Linked DNA regions of Homo sapiens: all the other regions are linked to region 1. Evidence: promoter capture Hi-C in 16 types of primary human blood cells and fetal thymus (Javierre and others, 2016). All regions are on one chromosome and are shown on one strand. The core of a region is centred on a gene start or on the middle of the fragment in contact, and the rest is flanking DNA. Distances in the headings are between cores, read along the strand shown.

What was found. Contacts are between HindIII fragments. The CHiCAGO score rates a contact against its expected background, and 5 or more counts as called.
Region 2: a fragment that was not itself captured here is called in contact with the fragment with the promoter of RAD23B in region 1 in 1 of 17 cell types (naive CD8 T cells); the score reaches 6.0 in naive CD8 T cells.
Region 3: a contact is called between the fragment with the promoter of CTNNAL1 here and the fragment with the promoter of RAD23B in region 1, in 6 of 17 cell types (activated CD4 T cells, total CD8 T cells, total CD4 T cells and 3 more). The highest score is 16.1, in activated CD4 T cells.
Region 4: the fragment with the promoter of TMEM38B here is called in contact with the fragment with the promoter of RAD23B in region 1 in 1 of 17 cell types (naive CD8 T cells); the score reaches 5.7 in naive CD8 T cells.

Annotation. Positions count from the first base shown.
Region 1 is chr9:107,281,425-107,284,794 of GRCh38, reverse strand. It overlaps RAD23B (RAD23 nucleotide excision repair protein B), which reads right to left and starts at 1,516. Exons shown (of 10, transcript NM_002874.5): 1 at 1,100-1,516. The coding sequence starts at 1,165. RefSeq lists a silencer at 978-1,537 and an enhancer at 2,028-2,187. The HindIII fragment of the contact is 9,258 bases long and covers 1-3,370 here.
Region 2 is chr9:109,104,337-109,107,706 of GRCh38, reverse strand. TMEM245 (transmembrane protein 245) reads left to right here. Exons shown (of 18, transcript NM_032012.4): 3 at 1,098-1,199. Among named protein-coding and RNA genes, the nearest start is that of TMEM245, 14 kb to the left of the region's middle. The HindIII fragment of the contact is 6,110 bases long and covers 1-3,370 here.
Region 3 is chr9:109,012,013-109,015,382 of GRCh38, reverse strand. CTNNAL1 (catenin alpha like 1) reads left to right here and starts at 1,884. Exons shown (of 19, transcript NM_003798.4): 1 at 1,884-2,081. The coding sequence starts at 1,941. TMEM245 (transmembrane protein 245) reads left to right here. Exons shown (of 18, transcript NM_032012.4): 18 at 1-248. RefSeq lists a silencer at 1,642-2,531 and an enhancer at 2,193-2,696. The HindIII fragment of the contact is 6,099 bases long and covers 1,528-3,370 here.
Region 4 is chr9:105,692,775-105,696,144 of GRCh38, reverse strand. TMEM38B (transmembrane protein 38B) reads right to left here and starts at 1,604. Exons shown (of 6, transcript NM_018112.3): 1 at 1,373-1,604. The coding sequence starts at 1,484. RefSeq lists a silencer at 1,501-1,770. The HindIII fragment of the contact is 6,405 bases long and covers 1-3,370 here.

The DNA of each region.
Region 1 (3,370 bases), core at 267-2,766:
TCTACTTAACACCAAAGCCCCTGATCTCCACCCAAAATAGAATCAACTACTTTTAAAAATAGAGTTGGGCAGAAAGCTGCTGGTTTAAACTTAGTATTATGACAATCTTGGCGGTGTATTTCCGAACATAAGCAGTAAATTTACACTCACAGCGTTTTTAGATTCTTGGCATAAAGTTGTACTGACCTCAACAGTGTCTCTTTATGCAGTCACAAATACAGAAAAATGTATAATGTGGACTTCTGAAATGTTTAAGGCTTTAACTGCAGAAAGGATTCAAAGTTGTTGTTTTTTGTTTTTTTTTTCTTTTTTCCCCCTTGAACTGCTACTGTTTGGGGCATCGGGGGAGGGTGGCTGCAGCGTTCCAACTCCTACAATTCCAAGATTTCTAACACAGAAAACCCGTTAAATCTGAAGTTTAGTTTGAGCCTGGATGGCTGTGAAGAGCTCTAACAGCTAAAACCATCACCAAAGAGGCCTCAAAGTGCAATCTACGCAAGGGTGTGGGTTTGGTGGCGGGAGGAAGGCAGCAGAACGATTCATTTGCAAATAAAAGGGTAAACAATTCTGAGGGGAAAGGGGCAAATTCATTTTCACCACCACTCACCTCTCGGCGGCAAACGGAACCTGATACTTTTTTTTTTCTTAAGGCTCATCTTCTCGGGTTACCAACTCTGGGAACTAAGCGGCTAACCAGGTCCACACAGGGGTAGTGGCGACGCCTACGTCTCCCTCCCCCACCTGTGCACCCATACCAGAAAGCCAGGCTCTACGGCTGAGACGGCCTGGACCTTCCCATCCCCCTCCGGCCCCGCTAGCACGAGCTCCTAGGCCCAGGCCCGCGGGCGTGCGCTCCACGCCATCTGCCACCAGGCCTTCGGCGTCCGGCCACTGCTTCCCCATTCTCCTGCCACAAAGCCCACGGCCAAGACAGGAGGATCGGCTCCGCTGTACGCCGCCAGGGCCGGCACCAGGACCCAGGGCCCTCATCGCGCCCTCCGGGGCTTCCCCCGCTGGAGCGCGCCGCCCGGCCCCACGAGCTCCTGGCGCTCCCCGCGGCCCGCACGCGGCTGCCCCTGCCCCCGGCCCGCGCGCATACCGTCTCCTCGGGGTCAATGTCTATCTTGAAGGTCTGCTGCTGGAGGGTCTTCAGGGTGACCTGCATGGTGCCGCCGCGCAGCTCGGCTGCCGGGCCTGCGCCGGGTGCTGGCCGCTGGGCGGGGTCTGTGGCCTGGCGGGGCCCCGGGGTCGCCCGCGCTCCTCGCGCTCTGGGGAGGAAGGCGGTGGGGGTGGGGGCTTGTCACATTCGCCCAGCGGAGCGGCCTCTCCCCCAGCCCGTGCCCCGGACCGCGCCGCTGCCTCCGCGACTGCGGCCTTCCCCGCGAACTCGGGCCGCCGTGCTTCCTCACGCGCCGAGCGCCAGCCACGGAGTCTGCAGAAGGCGCGAGGGGGTCGGCGAGACAAGCAGGGAATCCGCTAGCTCACCACAGGATGGTGGCCGCCATCATCGTGACTCGCCGAGACGTGCCCCCTCCCCCACGCGAAAAACCTGGGGGGATGGGGCCGGGCGGGCGAAGCGCGCAGGCGTGGGGTGCGGCGACGCTTTGCGCCGGCGCGGCCGAGGACTCCGCCCCAGAATTGGGGGCGGGGCGGAAGGCGGTCCTGGAATGTCGGCGGCCTGGACCCGGATTACGCAGGCGCGTTCCGTGGGCGGCAAGGGCTCCTGGGGCTTCCTCCTAGCGACTATTGCTGGGGCGTTCTCTCCGGCTGCCGCGGCTCCGCCTCTGTGCAGGCTCCGCCCGGCTGCCGAAGTTACGCAATGTGTAGCCCGGGAAGCGCTTCGTGGAGACCCGGCAGAGTGGATGCGGAGCCCTGGAGCGGGGGAGTAATCGGGGCGGAGTTTAAGTGAAAGGATGGCGGTAACCACAGTCTGGGGGCCAGCACCCGCGGGGCGCTTGCTGCGGGGCTCAGCCCTGGGGGTGTCGACTGATTCTTTAATCCCGACAGCACAGACTCCTGAGCTGGACTGCCCGAGTTCAAATATTGTTTTTTCTCACTAGCCTAAACAGATGGACCGATTTAAAATGAAGGTCAAGTTCTGTCACACCTCGGGGTAGAACTGTCCAGTGTTTCCCCATCTAGCCCCGAGTTAAAGTCAGAGTTATTAGAACGGATGCATTAGCCCCTCGCCTTTCTCCGAGTCGCCTTACTCTCCCCACTGGTGGATTCTAGGTTGCCCCCGGCTCCCTTAACATCCTTGCTCAGATATTGCCTTCTTGGTGAGGTCTGTTCTGGCTGCCTTACTTAAAATCCCAACTTCCTATCTCTGTTATCCTGCTCTGTTTTCTTGTATAGCGGGTATCCCTTTATAATTACCCTGTAATGTACGTATCTCTTGTTTATCATCTTTCTCCTTTTCCTGTGAACCCCAGACTGAAGCTGCACAGAGGCAAAGATTTTGCTGTGTTCACCCATGAACATGCCTGGCACATTGCAGGTGCACGGTAAATATTTGTGGAATGGGTGAATGTGCTTCTGGATCCTCAGCAGTAGAATGAGAATAATAATGTCACTCATTGATTATTGGAGGGGGAAGTTGAATATTGTATGTAAAATCATGATAAACAGTCTGTAAGCAGTTAGCTATTAGTAGAAAGTCCGTTTACAGATAGAAAACTGAAGTACAGAGATGTTGAGTAATGCACCTGGAATAACCCAGCCAGTAGTAAATGGCAAATCCACAATGTGACCTCAGACAGAATGACTCCAGAGTCTGTGTCCCAGGGTGTGCCACTATTCCCCTGTTTTTTGTTTTAAAGATTATTCTTATTTTTTTAAAGCGTCTGACTGTCATCCACGCTGGAGCGCTGTAGCACAAACACGGCTCACTGCAGCGTCAACCTCCTGAGCTCAAGAGATCCTTCCACCTCAGCCTCTTGAGTAGCTGGGACCACAGACACACACCACTGCTTCCCAGCTGATATTTTATTTTTTTGTACAGATATGTTCTCCCTATGTTGCCAGGGCTGGTCTTGAACTCCTGGGCTCAAGTAATCCTCCTGCTTCGGAGTCCCAAAGTGCTGGGATTATATGTGAGCCATCGCTCCCAGCTATTCTCCTCTGTTTTATACTGTGCCTGTGGCACATTTGATTTAGTTCAAGTATAAAACACAGTTCTAGTCAGGCCACTAGCTCTATGACCAATTACAAATTACTTCTCTGGGACAGCATCCTCACTAATACAATGTCACTGCTTGGTTTTCAGTGGCTTCAAGGAGCTTGGGTTTAATGTTTTCAAGAAACTTTCCTTGACCAGCTTCTCCCTCCACTAACCTGATATTTCCCCTTTCACAACACATAACTCCCTTCA
Region 2 (3,370 bases), core at 536-3,035, 1.8 Mb before region 1:
AGATAGCCTTAAAGTAGTTTCTAGAGCTACTACTTATTGTTAAAAATAAAATAAAAAACAGCTATGTCTCTGTCTTCGTTTGATGTCAAACAAAGCATTATTCTCTAGCTTTGTTGAGTTGGAATGATAGAGGAATTTATCTGCAAGAACCCGTATGTCAGATATGACTCATTTTGAACTCAGGGAAGGCAGAGGAGGGAGGCAGGCAGGCAGGGATGTTTTATGAGGTTCTAGGTGGACTCAGGGAAATGGTTATGGGTAGGGACCTGTTTCTTGGTGACTTGTGAACTTTTTTTTTTTTTTTTTTTGAGACAGAGTCTCACTCCATCGCCCAGGCTGGAGTGCAGTGGTGTGATCTTGGCTCACTGCAGCCTCCACCTCCTGGGTTCAAGCAATTCTCCTGTCTCAGCCCCCCAAGTAGCTGGGATTACAGGCATGTACCACCACGCCTGGCTAATTTTTTTTTTTTATTTTTATTTTTAGTGGAGATGGGATTTCACCATGCTGGCCAGGCTGGTCTCGAACTCCTGACCTCAAATTAGCCACCTGCCTCAGCCCCCCAAAGTGCTGGGATTACAGGTGTGAGCCACTGCGCCCAGCCAACTTGTAAACATTTTTGCATTATACACTGAGGAGGAGACATTGATGGTTTTGCTGTGCTCTTTTGGGCCATTCTCTTTCTTGGGAGAGAAAGTTCACGCCCGGTGGTATTTTCAAGAAACCAAGGCAGACTTTATGGCTTTGAGATCTATGCCTAATTCTGGTCATTCTGGGGTGAAGTAGATGGTTTGAGTTCGGGATGGTTTTAGACCTTTGGTATACGTTACAATAGACTCTCTTTAATAGAACCCCATTAAAGGTAGGCAGGCATGTACCCTATCCATTTGACCAGGGGCCTCTGAGAGCAGGGATGAACTTAATTTTGAGAAATCTTGAAGTTTATCTAATGGACTTAAATTTTTTTTTTTTTGCCTGATAAGTAATTCTGTAACTAATATATATACCAGATTGTTCTGTCAAACTACAAAACTGAGTTTTGTAAAAACAAGTACTAGGTTTTTATTTCACTAAAAATGTTAATTCTTAATAATTTGCAGCATCCCTGGCTGGCTCATGGAGAATTCCAGTATTCCTGGTTATTGTTTTCCTGATGTCTGTGGGTACCCTCTATGAAAAACAGAATGGAAAAGAGTCTTCTGGTAAGAAATAGGGCATTCTATTAATACTACTCTTTGAAGTATTTTGGAGAGTAGCTTTTTAAAAAATGCTATGATGAAACAGCTTTGAATCTATTTAAAAACCTATGATGGTTTCTGAGTGGAAAATAAATTGTTTAAAATATTTTAGGTTGTTAGACCATGATTTGTTTTGGTATTATTTTATTGAGGCATGTATAACTTAAAGTTAACCATAAGCCATTGTATTTTAATTTTATTAAAATATTTTATTTTTATAAAATAAAATATTTTTATTTTATTTTTTAGTGACAAGGTCTTGCTCTGTTTCCAGGCTGGAGTGCAGTGGCACAATCATAGCTCACTGTAACCTTGAACTCCTGGGCTCAGGGGTTTTCCAACCTTATCCTCCCAAGTAGCGAGGGCTACAGGTGCAGTAATCACGTAAAAATGGCCTACAGGCCGTGCGCAGTGGCTCACGTCTGTAATCCCAGCACTTTGGGAGGCTGAGGCAAGCGGATCACGAGGTCAGGAGTTCGAGACCAGCCTGGCCAATATGGTGAAACCCCGTCTCTACTAAAAATACAAAAATTAGCTGGGCATGGTTGGCATGTGCCTGTAGTCCCTGCTACTCGGGAGGCTGAGGCAGAAGAATTGCTTGAACCCAGGAGGTGGAGGTTGCAGTGAGAGCCGAGATCGCACCACTGCACTCCAGCCTGGCAACAGAGCGAGACTCCGTCTCAAAAAAAAAAACAGGCATACAATATGTCACAATGTTGTGCATCCATGACCTGTATCTAGTTCCAAGACATTTTCATTACCTCAGAAAGAAACCCTGTACATATATCAGTACTTCATTCCTTTTTATGGCTGAATAATATTCCATGGTAAGAGCACACCACATTTTGTTTATTTACTCATCAGTTGATGGATATTTGGGTTATTTCTACCATTTGTCTATTGTGAATAGTGCTGCTATGAACTTGTGTGCAAGTATTTATTTGAATACACGTTTTCAGTTCTTTGTTTACCTATGAGTAGAATTACTGGGTCGTATGGTAATTCTGTGTTTAATTTTTTAAGGAACTGCCAAACTGTTTTCCACAGCAGATGTACCATTCAGATTTCTACCAGCAGTGTATGAGGATTCTAATTTCTTTGCATCCTTGCCAACACCTATTATTTTCCACTTTTTGATAATGGCCAGTCCAGTGGGTGTGAAGTGGTATCTCATTATGGTTTTCATTTGCATTTCCGTAATGACTAATGATGTTGAGCATCTTTTCATTTGCTTTTTGGCCATTTGTTTCTCTTCTTTGGAGAAATGTCTATTCAAATTCTTTCCCCTTTAAAAAAAATTAAATTGTTTGCCTTTTTGTTGTTGCGTTTTAGGAATTCTTTACATATTCTAGATACTAGACCCTTATCAAATATATGATTTTTAAATATTCCATTGGTGGGTTGTATTTTTACTCTCTTGATAGTCTCTTTTGATGCAAAGAAATTTTTTTGATGAAGTCCAGTTTATCTACTTTTTCTTTTATTGCTTGTGTTTTTGATGTCATCTGACAAACAATTGCCAAATCCAAGGTCGTAAATACTTACCCTTAAGTTTCCTTTTAAGAATTTTATATTTTTATCTCTTATATTTAGGTCATTGATCCGTTTTGAAATAATTTTTGTAAATGATGTGAGGTAAGGATCCAACCTCATTCTTTTGCCTGTGTATATTCAGTTCTCCCAGCACTGTTGAAGATGGCCTTGGCACCCTTGTCAGAAATCAGTTGACCATATATATATGGGTTTATTTCTGCCCTTTCTGTTGTGTTTCACTGATCTATATGTCTCTCCTTAATGTCAGTTAACACATTCTTTTGATTACTGTAGTTTTGAAATTGAGAAGTGTGAGTTCTCCAACTTTGTTCTTCCTTTTCAAAATTGTTTTGACTATTTTGGGGTCCCTTGCATTTCCATATTTATGATCAGCTTTCCTGTTTTTACAAAAAAGCCTTTTGGGATTTTGATAGGGATTGCATTCAATCTAGAGATCACTTGTGGGCGGGGGGGAGCATTGCCATCTTTACAATATAAAAAGACAAAACCACAAAAACCTTACAATTTATGAGCGTGGGATGCATTTCCATTTATTTCGTTACTCTTTAATTTTTTAGTGTTTTTTTTAATTTTAAATTTTA
Region 3 (3,370 bases), core at 635-3,134, 1.7 Mb before region 1:
TGATATAGAGTTGTAATTGCTTACATAACTCTTTGAAAATGTATCATCCCTGGGTTCTCAGGTGAAGGAGGCAATTCAAAAGTAAAAAAGAATATTCGAATACAATAAATACCCTCTGTTCTCACACAAATGCTGTTTCTTAGCTAACTTGCTTTGACAACCTACTGATGTAACTTCTTTATTAATGTGAAATATTTATATTTTGAAATAAAATTACTAGTGTTGAATGAATCATGTGGTAAACTTAATCTCCTGTGTGTTGAAAAACTTGATCTTTTGTGAAGCCAAAGTTTCATGAATCCATCCGTCTCTTAGGCCTTCTGTTATGCCATTTCCTCCGGCACCATTGTGTACACTGAATTCTTAGGAGATACTGTCAACTTCGTAAGGGAAGGTGTGTCCAGGAAGTGGACACTGGGCGCCTTAAAGAGGTCAAGGGCCCTCAGTGCACAGGGGAAGGTGGCCTTGTGATAGGTAAGGAAGTGGTGAGATGGTTGGCTGAGAAGAATTGGAAGAAAAAGTTGGATTGAGGACCTGTCCTTTTTGAATGAAGAAAAAGAAGCTGAAGCTTGGCTATCTTCAATACCAAAGACAGCTGTGCAGCACTGGTAGATTGATGAAGCTGAAGCTACAGGTTGAAGCACTGTGAAGCGCCTTTCAACGGTGCTTGGGAAAGAGCTTTCTTATGCCTCAGGTTGATGTACCCAGCTCATCAATCTGGTGTTATGGAAGAAGAAATGATCCAGGCCAAGGTGTCCGGGTGGACTGGCCAGCCTCAGATTCTTTTTTACTCTGACAGGTTCTCACTGGCAGATATGGTAGTTGACAAAACATTTTTTCATGCTTCTCAGTCTGTTGCTTAAGTCTGGAATTCCTTCACGGCGTGCATACTGCTGACAACCTCCTTTTGGCCTTGCTCCTGGAGACCTTAGAATAGGAGTCTTCAGCTCCCCGCCCCCATCGTGGGGCTCTGTGCGAGCTCAGAGTTGTGCTTACAGAACTGATTCTTACCCTTCCCCTCAAGTGAGTTGTCAGAAATACACACTTGGTGTTTTCATGCAATGAACAGTTATGAAGAAACTGCTCTGTGCCTGGCACTAGGAAAAAACTTCGAAAAATAGTTTTAAGAAGTAGTGTTGAACAGTAGATGAGGCTTTTTCATGTTTCTTTTAAATTTCTTTTGAATAAGTCTAAACAGTAGTGTGAAAGATATACTGACTTCCTGCCGAATACCCAGATACTCCATTAATGATTGCATTATCAAATGTTTCCCCTTCAATCCAGCTCAAAGTGTTTGTGAGAAATACATGGTGAAAGAATGAGCAGGGTGGAGTGGAAATTGGACCTTCCGGAGAAGCCCCAGGAAGACATTACCACTGGAATTCCCGTCCCAGGGGAAAGGCCCCTCCCAACAGACTTGATTCTGGTTTTGGTCTACCAGTTTCAACCCCAGCACAGCTTCCAGAAGTCTTTGCGGGAATTCAGAGCTGATTTAGGACGAGTCACCTATCGAGAGGACGGGAAGCTTTGCTGGGGACGCTTGTCTGTCCAAGTAAGAGGAGGCCATGTGGCTGTGTGACAGATGTGTTTTGTTTCTCCTCGCCACCCTGGCGAGAAGGTGCCTGGAACCCATGGAAGGGGTCTGAGAAGAGATAAGGGCGGGGCCATGTGGGGGCGGGACCCGGCTTAGGGGGTGGGGTTGCAGGGAGCCCACACCAGGCTGGACTGCGCGGGCGGGGCAGAGGCCGGGGGTGGGCGGGGACATACGGTGACGGGCGTCGGGGACGCAGGGTTGGCGGCGGAGCCCTGGGGGGGCGGGCCCCTGGGGGCGGGGTCTCGGTTGGCGCGAGTGTCCTGTCGCCGCCGCCTCGGGCGGGTGGGCTGACTGGCGGCAGGCTCGCCGCGGCGCGGAGTCCCGGCTGCGGGATAGACCGAGGGCCATGGCCGCCTCTCCCGGACCCGCCGGCGTTGGCGGCGCCGGAGCAGTCTACGGCTCCGGCTCTTCGGGCTTCGCCCTCGACTCGGGACTGGAGATCAAAACTCGCTCGGTGGAGCAGACGCTACTCCCGCTGGTTTCTCAGGTAAAGTGGCGCCTGGCGCGGCCCCTCTTCTCCTTCCCGCCGCGGCCCGCGATGGCGGCCGCCGCTCGCACGACCGGACGGGAGGCAGCCGCTGCCCCACTTTCCGCGCCGGCACTGCGGCGTTCTTGTCGGACCGCCTGTGTGGGGCTCCGGGACGGGCCTCGGCCCGGGCGGCGAGAGACTGGATAATCCAAACTCCGGCGGCAGGGTTGAGTGGACTCGGCAGCAGGGGAGGCTGCGGGGCGGGGGTGCCGGCCTGGGCCTTTGCCCCCAGTACCTGCCTCGGGTCTGCGGCTCCCGGGTGCCCCCGGCCGGGCGATGCCCCCTCCGCGGGGCGAGTGGTTGAGCCCAGCTCCCGAGGCAGAGAGGACCCCCGCGGGGCCCCTCGCTGGTACTTAGGGCCCTCCACGATAACCGACTTTGTCACCAGTTCGCAGCCTGGTCCCGAGCCCGGCTCCTCCGCCTGGGGTATTCCTCCCGGCCTCCCCGCCCAGCGTGCGCTCCCTGATCCTTTGTCCCTCCCCGCCGTAGGTCAGTTCGCTGGCCTCCCATTCATCCCGGCCACCCTACCCCTTCCCCTGAACCTGCTGCTGCTCACTTCTGCCCGCTTCTGTCCGGCCTCGTGGAAGAGTGACGTGGAGACTGTATGACAGTTAATCCAGATGCACACCGTTTTGCCAAGTCCCGTTTGGGATGTGTGCGTTACTGTATTTGCCAATCAGCTAACCGACGCCCTGAGTTTTAGGAAAGTTTTTGTTTCTCTGAGCTGGGTTATATGCAGCTTCAGGGCTAGAATTCCTCACTTAGGTCTGTGGTAAGATGCCAAGCACTGTGGGGAGTGAATTCTGTGCCTTCGGGAGCGCGTTGGCGATGTGTGACTCACATCTAGGTTGTAACCACTTCGTGACTCATACTAGGATTACCAAGATTTTAGAGGTAGAAGAAATCTTAAAGATTATCTGACTAAAAATTCTTTCTTTAGCATCCTTGACACCTGGCCACCAGTACCCTGCTTAAACATGTTCAGTGAAGGGGAGCCTGTAGCTGTTGCATAGAATTCTAAATGCTATTATCTCTTCTCCTGCCCAGCCCTGCGCATATTTGAAAACAGCAGTTACACATGTCCCTGGATTCCTGTTATGCTGGTTAAATAAACATCCCTATTTTCTTCACCTTCGCATGGCTAACGGAGCAGTGATGAATATATCTGACACTCTCCTTCCCTTTTCCTGTGTCTCATTGAGGCTCTGACCAGTGGGAAGGGGCACTGGGATCCCTCAGTAATGTCA
Region 4 (3,370 bases), core at 355-2,854, 1.6 Mb after region 1:
GTATCACAACTCAGGTAGCCTCTGGAAAACTCCACTGTACACTTCTGAAAAAATGAGAGTGAAAAAGATAACATCTGCATATTATTACGAAAGTAATTTTAAACTGGCAGTGTCAGAGAATCCCATGGGTCCCTGGACCACAATGTGAACATCTGATTCAGCCTATACAAAAAAAAATTTTTTTAATCAAATTCTGAACATGTAGTAGCAACAAAACTTACTTTTTTCAAATCAAAGAAATAATATCTTATGCAGATAATGTGTTCTACTTTAATGCAGTAATACCATCCTCATCCAGGTCAAAATTTGTACCAACGATTTAAACTGAGCTACAAACTTCAACATAAATGAAAAATATTTCTGAGGTCTAAGGATTTTTTAAAACCAGTAAGTAGTCCATAAGAAAGATACAGCATCATCCTCCAGACCTCACTCATCAACTATCCGTAGGGCAAGGCAGATGAAAGACAGCAAGAACACAAAGAAAGTAGGCAAAGAAATGTCTGACCTCAAAGAAAGAAGAGGTCCATACAACTAAAAGCACAGTAGAATAACTACAAAAGTAAAGCAGTATTAGAGCAAACGCACCCTGGTGTAAAATCCAATAAAATACAACTACTGTCCCTTGATCGCATTGCTAAAAGAACTCAAAATGCTGTTTCAAGACTATATCCCCATTCTGCAGATAGTGAAACTACGCCAGGTAACTCTTGCTTGTACAGTGTCCGTCGTGACTGTGAAAAGGGGAACGCACTCGCTTCTCACATGCTAGGCAGGGTGTTAGGACACTGCGTGAAGGGGAATCCTGGTCTGGCTACAGGAGGCTTTTTGTTTCAGTGCTTGTACAACTTTCATAACTGGAGAGTAGTCCGCAACCATCTATTACTCCAAGAGACTGAGTCAGAAACCTGCTGTCTCCTCACATGACTTTCAAACACTGCGAGCGAGTGGCGACACTGCGAGCGAGTGGCGACACTGCGAGCGAGTGGCGGTACCGCGAGGAGGCCGCCCAAGCCCTGGGCTGGCGCGGATATCTGTGGTTCCGAAACGCTGCGGCAGCTTCTGTCAGTCCTGGGACTTCTGCGGGCGGTTGGCAAGGTCGGCCCTGCTCGCCCAGGCTACGGCCTCGCGGACCCCAGGTCACGCCTCCTTTGAGGAGTACTAGAGCCTCCGTCCTCCCCCACGCTGTTTCCCCATCTGCACTCAGTAAGTCAGACCAACCGGCCCTTGGCGCCCCTCCAACTCTACCATCGAACTGTCTGGGCTAGCGGCCACTCAGCCGCCCACCCGACCCACCCGACCCACCCGACTTAGACGGTCCTCGCCGTCAGGAGCACTCTGAGGGGTCCGGCCCGCGGCGCCCCGCACTCACCCGGCTGACGTTTCACCGCCATCACTGACACTAGATAGTGCGCGATGTCAAAAAAGGGAAACATGGACGTGCGGGAGAAGGCCAGAGCCAACTCGTCCCATGGAGAATCCATAACGACCACCGACCGCGGCAACCGAAGCAGCCGCGGCTACTGGTTCCCCGCGCTCGCGCGGTGAGGAGTAGGAGAGGGCACAGCCGCGGCCGCCCGCTCCTCCGCGCCGGCTCCAGCTCCGCGCGTGCGCCCTGGCGCCGAGGGGGCGGGGCCGCGCTTCGCGGGAGCCGCAGGCTCACCGGCGCTAGGCGGGTGGGCGGGGCGAGCGGGTTCCCCGCGGCTCCAGCCGGCTCTTGCCTCGGTTCTCCTAGTAAGGGTCCAGCGTCTTCTTGGTCCTGGGCGCAGTGCAGGACCTGGAGAGCGTGCAGATGAACAAAACACGGTCCTCAAGGGGAGACGCTCAGAGTTGGATTTATTTCTGTAAATTGATGTCATTCACCTAACATTTATCGAGCAACCACAGTGCAAGTCACACTGTGACTTACTGGAGATATAAAAATAAAACAATAATATCCTGACCTCAAGAACTATGCGTTCCCTGAAAGAGATTTTTTATAAAAAGAGAAAAAACGCACATAATGGTACAAAAGCAGGTACTGAGAAGTATAGCTGCCGTGCGAGAGCAGTTCGAAACGAAGATTACAATTCTGGGAAGTGAGTAAAGTGACATGTGAGCTGGACTTTAAAAGTTAAGTGAGAAACACAAGCTAGGTGGGAGATGGAGGGAGGTGTTTTGGGTTGACTACAAAGTGAGAAATGAGGTTGGGAAAAGTCCTCGAATGGCAGACAAAGCCAGGCAGTTTGGCTCCAGAGGTTAAATTCTTGATCAATCACTATGTTAAGCTCAGAGCCAGAATCTCTTCTCCTAATCTCTACGCTAACTGGGTTGTTTGGTGGAAGGTGAGGGAGTAGAGGTGCAACGAAGCAACAAGATTAAGAATAGATTGATGAGAAGCGACTGACAACGGAAAATCAGAGGGTATTCACTGGTCCAAGCAAAAGGTAGTGGAGGCTGTGGCAGCAGAAATTGAGACCAATTGTGGGAAACATGGGTAGAAGCAGAATATCGTCAGTGAGTGTCAGTCTGTACAGGCGGGAAAGGAAGCATTTGTCAAATAAAATGAGGAACGGGTGAGTAGGAGGATTGTGGTTGCATTCTGATAAATAGGAAACAAGAAGGAATAGGTTTGGGTAAGAAAAAAAACTAGCTTGGCACACTTATTTGATGTGTGAACAGATTATGCTGGCACCAGGAAATTGGAGAAACGTGATTAGCTGCTAGGTAGGTGACAGCTTCACGGGTGTATGCACTGCAAAAGGAGAATTTTTTTTATCTGAATATGTATTCATTAATTTTAATTCATTTAACAAAATGTTTTTTGCGTGCCTACTATGTAACCAGCATTTTGCTGGATGTCAGAAATACTGCCCTAAACACTAAGTGTTTAAAACGTAGGAAAATTGTAGTAAATCTCTACACTTCATTACTTATCAAGAAAGAATAGACTTGTTCAAATACTTTTCACGTGTGGTTTTCTAAGCAAGCACTTCCCGTAGAGAAAAGTCTTTAGACCTGTAGCACACTTTCTAGCAAAACTAAGGGGAAAAAAACCACCTGTGAATATTTATACTTTCCTGTTTAAGTCTGTTCTTTCCATACTTTTTACACATTCGCTTATTTTTGGAATTTTAGTTTTGCGAATTTAGGCTCAGAGTTTGGATATTACTTCTTTTTTTTCTTTTCTTGTTTTTTTTTTTTTTTTTTTTTTTTTTTTTTGATATGTAATCTTGCTCTGTTGCCAGACGAGTGCAGTGGCGCGATCTCGGCTCACTGCAACCCCCAACTCGCTGATTCAAGCGATTCTCCTGCCTCAGCCTCCCGAGTAGCTGGGATTAAAGGCACGTGCCACCACGTTTTTTTTGTATTTTTAGTACAGACGGGGTTT